Linked DNA regions of Homo sapiens: region 2 is linked to region 1. Evidence: promoter capture Hi-C in 16 types of primary human blood cells and fetal thymus (Javierre and others, 2016). All regions are on one chromosome and are shown on one strand. Each heading gives the region's core, a stretch centred on a gene start or on the middle of the fragment in contact. The rest is flanking DNA. Distances are from core to core; before and after follow the strand shown. Region 1 holds the start of PPP1R12A (protein phosphatase 1 regulatory subunit 12A). Region 2 has its middle 11 kb from the start of LIN7A.

Region 1 (4,629 bases), core at 821-3,320:
TAATTACATTATCATTTTTAATGCCAAAAGTTTCCTTCATTCTCAACACCATGGTTTTAAAATTTTACGAGTTATGATATGCCTTAAATAAACTTCACCCAAATAAAAAGTTTGCTATGCATTAGAGAATCTAAATTAATGAAATTGAGAAAGCGCTAGACACCCTGCTATATTTTTACTGGGTGCCACATTTTTAATTCCATATTTGTCCTGCAATGTGTCAATCATTTCAATATATCCAGTCAACTTTGTAAACAAAGGCTATACTCCAAGTCTGATAAGAGAATTCCATTACACAAAATTTAAAATGGTCATCACTCCCTTAAACAGTAAGCAGGACAAGGAAAAATGTCACTACACACCTTTTTTTTAAAAGGCATCAAGTTAATATTCATGAAATATAAAGCCTTGAGTTTCAACCTCCCAAACAAGTTTTTACTACAACATTATTCAAAATAAGGCTATGCATCTTCCACACACAACCAAGGCAACTTTGAGATAGCTTACAAGTCTTTTCATTGTTAAGGGGAAGCTATCGCTGCAAAGTCATTTTCTATTACAGTTATTCCAAGTTGCCCGCTAAGAAAATAGAAAAAGCCTATGTTTTGTCACCTATTACCGTCACTTAAAAATTGCTTTTTATGCATAACTCTACGTGGTTGTGTTGCTTTTGGCCTGTTAAAGGCAAGGCAACATTATCTCTGGATTGCCAATAGTTTCTCCTTATTTGGCTAACATTGAGAGATCCCAATCAGACTACTATAAAACTTTAATATGCACAAAGCATCCATTTTGAGAAAAGTTTGTGACCAGCTTTCTTTTTTCCCAACCCCAAAAGAAAAACCAGAGCTTGGTAACCGGCTTTGAAAAGAGTGTCCCCTATTTATTCTTCTCTTTCTAACACCAGTGCACACCCGAGGACCTGGGGCTCAAGGATCTCTGACACTGCGGCAAACTTCGAGTATCAGACTCAACACGTTCCGGTCCGGAGGTGGGCAAGCCCTTTAGAGGGCTTCCTTACTCTACCCACTTCCATCCCCTTCCTTTCAGCCGGTGCAGATCAGCTAATTACACCCTGTTTTCCCCTCCCCAGTGACCAAGAGTAATAAATGAGAAAACAGGAAATCGTTCGTTCAGGGCACTCGGCTTAGGGCTCTAGATTACTATTATTATCATCATTTGTAATCAAGTCCTAAAAAGTGCAACAAATCCAATGCCCACCTACAAGTCAAAGATGTTCATCTGCCTAACCGTCCGTAATGCCCCTTGTTAGTTTTCTTCCTTCAGCATCCACCCCTCCGAATATACCACTGACACCGGGGCCCAGGCACAACCCCACTACACCCCTCCTTGTCTCGACCCCAAATCCCAGACTTATCCACGAATGGCCCTGGGGCCCCAAACGACCACAGTTCCTTTTCCCCTATGCCCCGGAAATCACCCGGTTCCCAACTCCACCAGCAACTGTTCTGAAGGGGGGCCTCAAGCCCAGCGCCCTCCCTTCCACCAGCTCTCCCTCCCGCCCTCTGGGGAAACCGCCCCCTCACCCCGCAGCAGGGAGTCTCCCGCCGCCCCCAGCCTCAAGAGGTGGAGAACTGAGGGCAGGCCCGAGCAGGAGGCCGACGAGAACCCTCACGGTCAGGAGAGCCGGCGGCGGGGCGCACAGACCTGGTGCAGGGCAGTGAGTCCGTCCACATTGGCGTAATTGATGTCGGCGCCGCGGTGCAGCAGCTTGAGGACCTCGTCCGTGTCGCCGCTGGAGCAAGCAGCCAGGAAGACGGCGCCATCGTCGAACTTCACCTTGGTCTTCTGGCGCTTCACCACCGGAGGCTCGAGGTCCGTCTCGGAGCCGATCCAGCGTTTCAGCTGCTCGTTCCGCTTCTGCTTCGCGTCCGCCATCTTCATCCCCTCTCCTGCCGCCGGGTCTTCTTATCGCGAGGGGGGGAAGGGGGAGGCGGAGAGGGAAGAGAGGGGAGGCAGGGGGTGTGTGAATGTTTCTATGAGTGCGGGCCAGAGGAGGGCTGGGAACCCGGAGCCGACGCTCGAGACTTCCAGTATCCCACAGAGCACTGGGGCGGCGCACCCGGCCGAGCGGACCTCCCTTCCTACCACAGAAGCCCTCCCGCCCCCAGCACGGCCACCCGTCACCGGCGGCCAATCTAACGTAACTTCGCGAGATCCGGACTGGGAGGCGCCCTTCGACCAGTGCGCATGCGCCCTGGGCCTGTGCCCGCCCCAGGAAGAGCGCTCCCGCGAACTGCGGCGGTGGTGGCTGGGCCACCAGAGGGAAGCGGGTGTGGCCCAGGCAGCGGGGGCTGGGACAGACCTGGAAAGGAGGAAGCGGGGAAGGAAGGTTGTCCTGTCGGGCTGGGGGCTCCCGGGAATCCGGAGGCCAGCAGTGGAACCGCAAGGCTCTACAGGGCAGATCTGCCTCCCGTGCTGTCTCAGCTACGCCGAGTCGTTGGCTCAGGGCGGAGGATTTTCCTATTGGCCGCGTTATTTGAATGGAATGGAGGATAGGTCGTGAAGTAGGTGCTGCTGGTTGATCTTTCTAAGGAACTCAGATGAACTTGGGCATGTCAGAATTAATAACCTTTTAAAAGTGGGGTCTGTGTGGCCGAGGGTTTTAATGGTAAGTTCTTGAGGTGACCACCTATTGACAAGGGTTGACCTGCTGTAATTGCTGTGGCTTCCTGCCAACCCCCACTTTAGAAATGTTTTTCTTCCTCTCTTTACTTGTTTTGTTTTGCTTTCTCTCACGCTTGGGTTCTCTTCTTTCTTCCTTCAGTGCTTTAAGCCTGTCTCGTACTACCCATGAGCTTAGCTCAGCCTGATTACTGGTCCTTACCTTTTAAGGGATTTCTGGTTACAGCTCCATCTCTTTCTAAGGAGGGGTAAAGACCTAGCTGCGTCTAGCATTTAAACGGAACGTTAAGGAAGGCAATTAATTCAACCACTATTTATTGAATACCTACTATGAGCCAGTAACTGTACTAGGCACTGAAGATACAATGAAAAATATGACATTTATTTGAACCACCTCTTGAGTTCAGTCGCCCAAACAAGACTAATTTATCATCGTCATAAAAAAAAGACTTTAACTTTGCCTTGTATGACCACACGCGCACACACATAGGATTTGTAATACTGATGTCTTATGAGCCATCTATCTACAATCTCCACCAATTGATTTTACTGAACACTGCATTGTTACCATCCACTACTATTTTTAGAGCATTTAGAAAAGCCAAGATAAAAACCACAAAACCTTACCATGGAAGTTTAGGGGTCATCTAGACAGAGTCCCTCAAGAACTAATTAATTTACTTAATTTTACCCAGAAGTAGGATTAGAATTCACTCAGCAAATACTATGCACCTGTTCTGGGTCAGGCATTGTTCTAGGTGCTGGAGATAGAGCAGTGAACAAATAAGCTTTTCTTACTCTCAGCATGATGCCTTTTCCAGTGGACTACTTCACAGCCTATCATATTGAGAAATAAAATAATTGAGTAAAACGTGATTAGGAAACTGTCTGCCTGTGAGACAATTTTCTGAACCACAGTTATTAGGATAGCGATAGAATCCAGGTCAGGGTAAAAATATTTCCTCTGAAAACGTTGTAGGAATAGAAAATGAATGTAATATTCATAAGATATACCATTGTATGTTCATTACATACATTAAAGATAACATCAGACCTTTGAATACTCATGGTGTTAGGTACTGAAAAACATTGTTAGCACTAAAATACAAAATCCCTATCCACAGAATACAGCTCTCAGAATAAAAGAAAGGAACTTGAGGATTGCCTTGTCAGCTCCTGTCTCTACCTAGGCAACTGACAGCATATCCTGTTTTCCAAGAACGTTATGGCCTATGTGGTAGCTCTTAAAGTGCCCTTGCAGTATAGATGGGAATCTGAAGATTTCATTCAGGCAAAAGGAATTTAGTGGGAAGTATGCTATTCCTGATTCAAGCACTTATTTCAGGATGCAAAATTAATAATAGTTTATTAATAAAACATAATTAAGTTCATTCAGTTCCCAGAAGCTGTCAGGGAAAAAACAACCAAGGAGGGCTGCTATCATGTGCAAATTTCACTGAATTTAGTTTTTCTTCTTTCGTGGCTCTAAGGGTCAAGATGCTCTATGTTAATATTGAAAGTACTCTGAAACTGCCACCTACTTTGTCTTTAGGGAGGATTTTTTTTAAATTGTTGTTAGTGAATTAATGGTACTGAAGACCTTGGGTTAATTCTAGAACAAGCAAAATTTTTTATTGACACACACAGTCCCAGCACAGTGGCTCACACCTGTAATCCTATCACTTTGAGAGGCTGAGGCGAACTCTGCCCAGGAGTTCGAGGCTGCAGTGAGCTCTCTGCACTACAACCTGAGCGACAGAGCTAGACCCTATCTTTACCAAAAAAAAAAAAAAAAGACACACACACACACACACATGCTTTTATTACATATTTGTCTAAGCAGAACAAATGGAAAAAATGCAAATATTTTCACTTCCTAATGGCTTCTAAACAGATTGGGATGTGAGGATACATTTTAGCTCCTTTAAAGCAAATTAAGCCTTAAAATAGAAGTACAAATAAAACTATACTTACTAATTTGCA
Region 2 (4,629 bases), core at 1,479-3,978, 1.0 Mb after region 1:
GCAGGAGAATTGCTTGAACAGGGGAGTCGGAGGTTGCAGTGAGCCGAGATCGCGCCACTGCACTCCAGCCTGGTGGTGACAGACCAAGACTCCAACTAGGAAAAAAAAGTATGTATTTATCATGTACCACATGATGTTTTTAAGTATATACATCACAGAATGACATGTCTAGCTAATTAACATATGTATTAACTCATCATATTATTATTATAGTGATGAGAACACTTTACATCCACTCTCTTATGTCAAGAATACATAGATTACTAACTGTAGTCATTATGCTGTACAGTAGAGCCACTTTTAGATATTTGTTTTATTGAACATTTTATTTCCATTAAATGAAATAGTATAGGAACACAATGAAAACACAGAGATGTTTAAGTACTTTCATTTTCAAATAAAATGACATGTTGATTTATTAACTGAATCAAAAAGCTAAGTACAACTTAAAACAATAAATACTATTCTTTCATTAAATTTTATTAGTAGTTAGTAATGCAAAGACTATTTTAAAAGCTAGTGCATATAGTGCTCTCTACTGGCCTTATCTTTATTACAACTACAATCAGTGTCGAGTTTGTAGTTATATGGGAACCATCATGAAAATCTTCTATACTGCAACTACAATCATCGTCAAATTTGTAGTTATGTAGGAAACATCATGATAAACTTCTGTCTCCGAAGACTAATAGTATTTTAATTTTAATTTCTTTTTGTTTTCTCCTTTAGGGGTGTGTGTGTGTATATGTATGTGCATTCAAAAACATTCATTCTTGAACTTCTATACTGAAGTCAGTTGTGAATTCTGCAAATAAGTTGCTGGCATACATCATCACAAATAATCATGTAATAAAGAGAAAATACAAAAAAGATGGATGTAGAACAATAACCGAACTGAAAACATTATGCCTTACATAAGTCAGTAGCAGCTACAATGCTTGCTTTTATTGTCTTTGGAGAAAACAAGTGAAGGCCTCCCAGGAGCAGAATGGGTGGGTGTGTATATTTAGGAAATCATGGTGGACAGTGACCACCATCATAAGCTCCTTTCTTTCTTTCCTCCAACACTCCTTACTTCCTGCACCATCTTCTAAAGACTCCAGAAATCTTACTGGTGCTTTTTTAAAGCTTAGGAAAAAATGTTGGAGTGGTTATGAAAGACATTTGCTTCAGGAGAAATAGAGAGAGAGAGAGAGATTGGTTCATTTATTCTATAATTTCATGTCTAGTTGATACTAAGTGCCACATGCTGTGCTAAGCACTAAACATTGAGCGGTTTTCAAAACCACCAATACCCAACTGGAATTATTGGTATTTGTAGGAATTATTCCTCAATAATATAAATGCAATTGAGGAAAGTACATCGTGCAATGAGAAAGCCTGTAACTGGTACATAAACCGATCTGGGATTCAGAAAGGATATCTCCAGAGCAGTAACACTTACGGTATAATGTGAAGAATGAGTATTAGATGTTAACCAAGCAAAGGTGAGGGTTGTAGAGACCATTCCAAGATCAGGTACCCTATGGGGTACCTTAGGCATGAAAGCACTTGGCCCTTTCAAAAAGCAGAGAGAAAGGTCAATGTGGCTTAAGGAAGCAGAACCAGAGAGTCTGCCAAGCTAAGGTAAAAATAACAGGTCTTGAAAGCCACATGAGGGATTTTGGATTTCATCCCAAGAGAAATGGGAAGTTATGGGAGTAGTCTTAAATAGCAGAGTAAGTGAAATAAAGAGATTTGTATTTTCTTTAATATCTGAATGCAATGTGAAGAGTGATCAGGGTGCAGGGAGCAGGTATAAATTAGAAGTGACCATTAAAGAGGTTATTCAGCAATCCAGGTAAGAAAGTACAGTGGTTTGGACTACAAAGATGGAATTGAAATTCAATGAAGTGGATGGATCCCAGAAATGCTTGAAGGATAACACCCATGGCCTTTGGTAAGATTGTATGCAAGTGGTAAAGGAGACACAATATTAAAAAGTGCCTCCTAGGCTTCTGACATGAATGAATGGATAAATGGCGGTAGGAAATATTGAAGGAAAAATTGGGAAGAAAAGTTAGTTTTCAACTTATGAAGTTTGACATCAAAGTTTGACACTTTTGAGATGTCAAAATGGTTATGTCATAATTGATGAACTATGAGTCTGTAGCTAAGAAAAGTCCTGAACTAGAGGTATAAACTTGGAAACCATTTGAATTATAATTGAAATTACTAGAGAGGAGGAAACCACACAAAGAAAGACTACTGAATGGGGAGTGTCTCACACTAAACCCTGATGAAATCCTACATTTAAAGTTCATATAAAGGAAAAGGATCCAGGAAAGGAGAAACAAGAGGTAGAAGGAAAACTAAGAGAGACTGATAACATACACAGCAAGGGAATACAAAAGAAATGGGCGCTGTGTCACAAGCGCTGCTGAGAGAATAAGAGCCAACCTGAACAAAGACCCTGGATTTAGTGATATAAGAAACAAAGCCATGTACTGAGACCAAACTAGGTCTGAGAAGAGTACAGAGTATTGAAATAAATATTGCATAGAGGTTTTTTTTGTTTTTCTTTTTTTAAGTGTGTGTGTGTGTGTGTGTGTGTGTGTGTGTGTGTGTATATATATATAAAACTTACATATATACACATATATGTGTATATATAAGTGATATACATAAGTTATATACATATAATGTGTATATATATGTTATATATATAGAAGTTATATATATAGAGAGAGTTAATAAAATGTATATATATAGAGAGAGAGAGAGAGAGAGAGAGTTAATAAAAGTGGATCGAGGTCCAGGTTTAATCAGTTTTTGAAGGATCTGCTTCACCTGAGTTGATGGATACTGCCTTGGCCATATAGGTTCTTCCATTCTCAATCCTCTTAAATGCCAAAATATGGACTCTATGAGTAGCTTTGTGAATTACTTCTTTTAATAGTCTTCAAAGTAATGCGTAATACTCTATAGTTCGGCTATTGCTTAGTGGCCTCAATTTCTCCATAGAGCACTGAACTGATTTGGAGCAGATGATCTTTCCCATCATGACTGCCTGACTGAGTAAACGTGGATGGAGGAAACCCTCATGACTCCAGGAAACTTCCTGTTCAGGATTTTCCAATGTGGCCATCATTTTTCTAAAGCAATACACTGCTAATTCTATATTGTTTTATGATTAATGTTTAGTACATGATTCTAGGCCTACTAAAATATTTGAAGCTGATTTTTACTTCTTTATTTCTATTTGATGTTACTTACTATGCACCCATATACATTGATTCTGTCTTTGGTGCACACAGAGAGAAAGCAACTCAAAAAAAAAAAAAAAAAGAAAAGAAAAGAAAGAAAGACAGCCCTGATATTGACAAATATATCATAGAACAAGTTGCATCCATCTGAACATGTTGCTCCAGAATCAAGACAAAATATGAAAACATTTTTGAGCCATAATGGAATTTGATACTCATTACGAGTATCAAATTTAACCAACAGTGGAAAATGAAATGAGACCCAGAGAGATTATATCAACTGCCCCACTATTCCTAGTTGGTGAGGAACAGGGCTGAGACTGAAGTCCAAGTTTCAACCAGTCCAGTGCCCTTTATACTACACTGTGTTATTACACTAGATTGTAAATTCCACAAGTAGAGGGACAATGTTTGTTTGCCACTGCATATTCATTGCTTGGCATTTTACTGATACCCAATAAATATTTGTGAATAAAAGAAGTAGAAGGCCAGCACAGTGGCTCACGCCTGTAATCCCAGCACTTTGGGAGGCCAAAGCAGGTGGATTGTTTGAGCCCAGGAGTTCAAGAACAGTCTGGACAACATGGTGAATCCCCGACTCTACAAAAAAAAAAAAAAATACAAAAATTAGCTCAGCATGGTGGTGCGGCCTGTAGTCCCAGCTCCTTCAGGTGGGGTTTGAGGCAGGAGGATCACTTGAACCCAGGAGGTCAAGACTGAAGTGAGCCATGATCACACCACTGCACTCCAGCCTGGGCAATAGAGCAAGATCCTGTCCCAAAATATAAATAAATACATAAATAAAAGAATGAGTAAGAGAACAATATACTGCCCAGCAAATAATCTCCATTTAAAATACATTTTACAATGGAAAATCAGTTCAACTACAGTTATTAACTGCTCACTTTGTACAAGATGTTTTATCTACTATGTTCTATGGAGATTTACAAGAAAAAAATAAATAAAATGTGGCCCTTGCCCTACAGGAACTTAATATTTATCACAATTCTCTGCAAAACAGGGTAGGACATGGTAAGCACCACCATATATAAGAGATATGAACACAGTATTACATGGAACATGGAAAGCTTCATGAATATGGTGGTATTTATGCTGGATCTTTTAAAACAGAAGAGTTTTTAGGTGGAGGTAGGATTGAAAAACATTTCAGTTGAACTAAACAGAATGTCTAAATGTACACTCAGGAAATGATGGTATGTGTTTTATTATTGAAACAGTCTACTTGTCTGGAACATGGGAGACATGAAGGAAAGTGGAAACCTGTGAAAAGTAGAAAGAAGCTGGTAGAAAAGGGAAAAGAAAGATACCACAGGGGGCTCTGAGAGTTACCTTAAGGAGCTTAAGATTCATTCAGTCTAAAGCT

What was found. The method cuts DNA at HindIII sites, captures the fragments that hold promoters and counts their contacts. A CHiCAGO score of 5 or more calls a contact.
Region 2: a fragment that was not itself captured here is called in contact with the fragment with the promoter of PPP1R12A in region 1 in 1 of 17 cell types (neutrophils); the score reaches 5.3 in neutrophils.

What each region holds. Positions count from the first base shown.
Region 1 is chr12:79,933,027-79,937,655 of GRCh38, forward strand. PPP1R12A (protein phosphatase 1 regulatory subunit 12A) reads right to left here and starts at 2,071. Exons shown (of 25, transcript NM_002480.3): 1 at 1,669-2,071. The coding sequence starts at 1,905. PPP1R12A-AS1 (PPP1R12A antisense RNA 1) reads left to right here and starts at 2,255. Exons shown (of 2, transcript NR_146535.1): 1 at 2,255-2,528. RefSeq lists enhancers at 891-1,456, 1,257-1,316, 1,457-2,020, 1,657-1,956, 2,003-2,297 and 1 more and a silencer at 1,487-1,576. The HindIII fragment of the contact is 9,894 bases long and covers 1-3,432 here.
Region 2 is chr12:80,946,262-80,950,890 of GRCh38, forward strand. No RefSeq gene overlaps it. Among named protein-coding and RNA genes, the nearest start is that of LIN7A, 11 kb to the left of the region's middle. The HindIII fragment of the contact is 3,205 bases long and covers 1,127-4,331 here.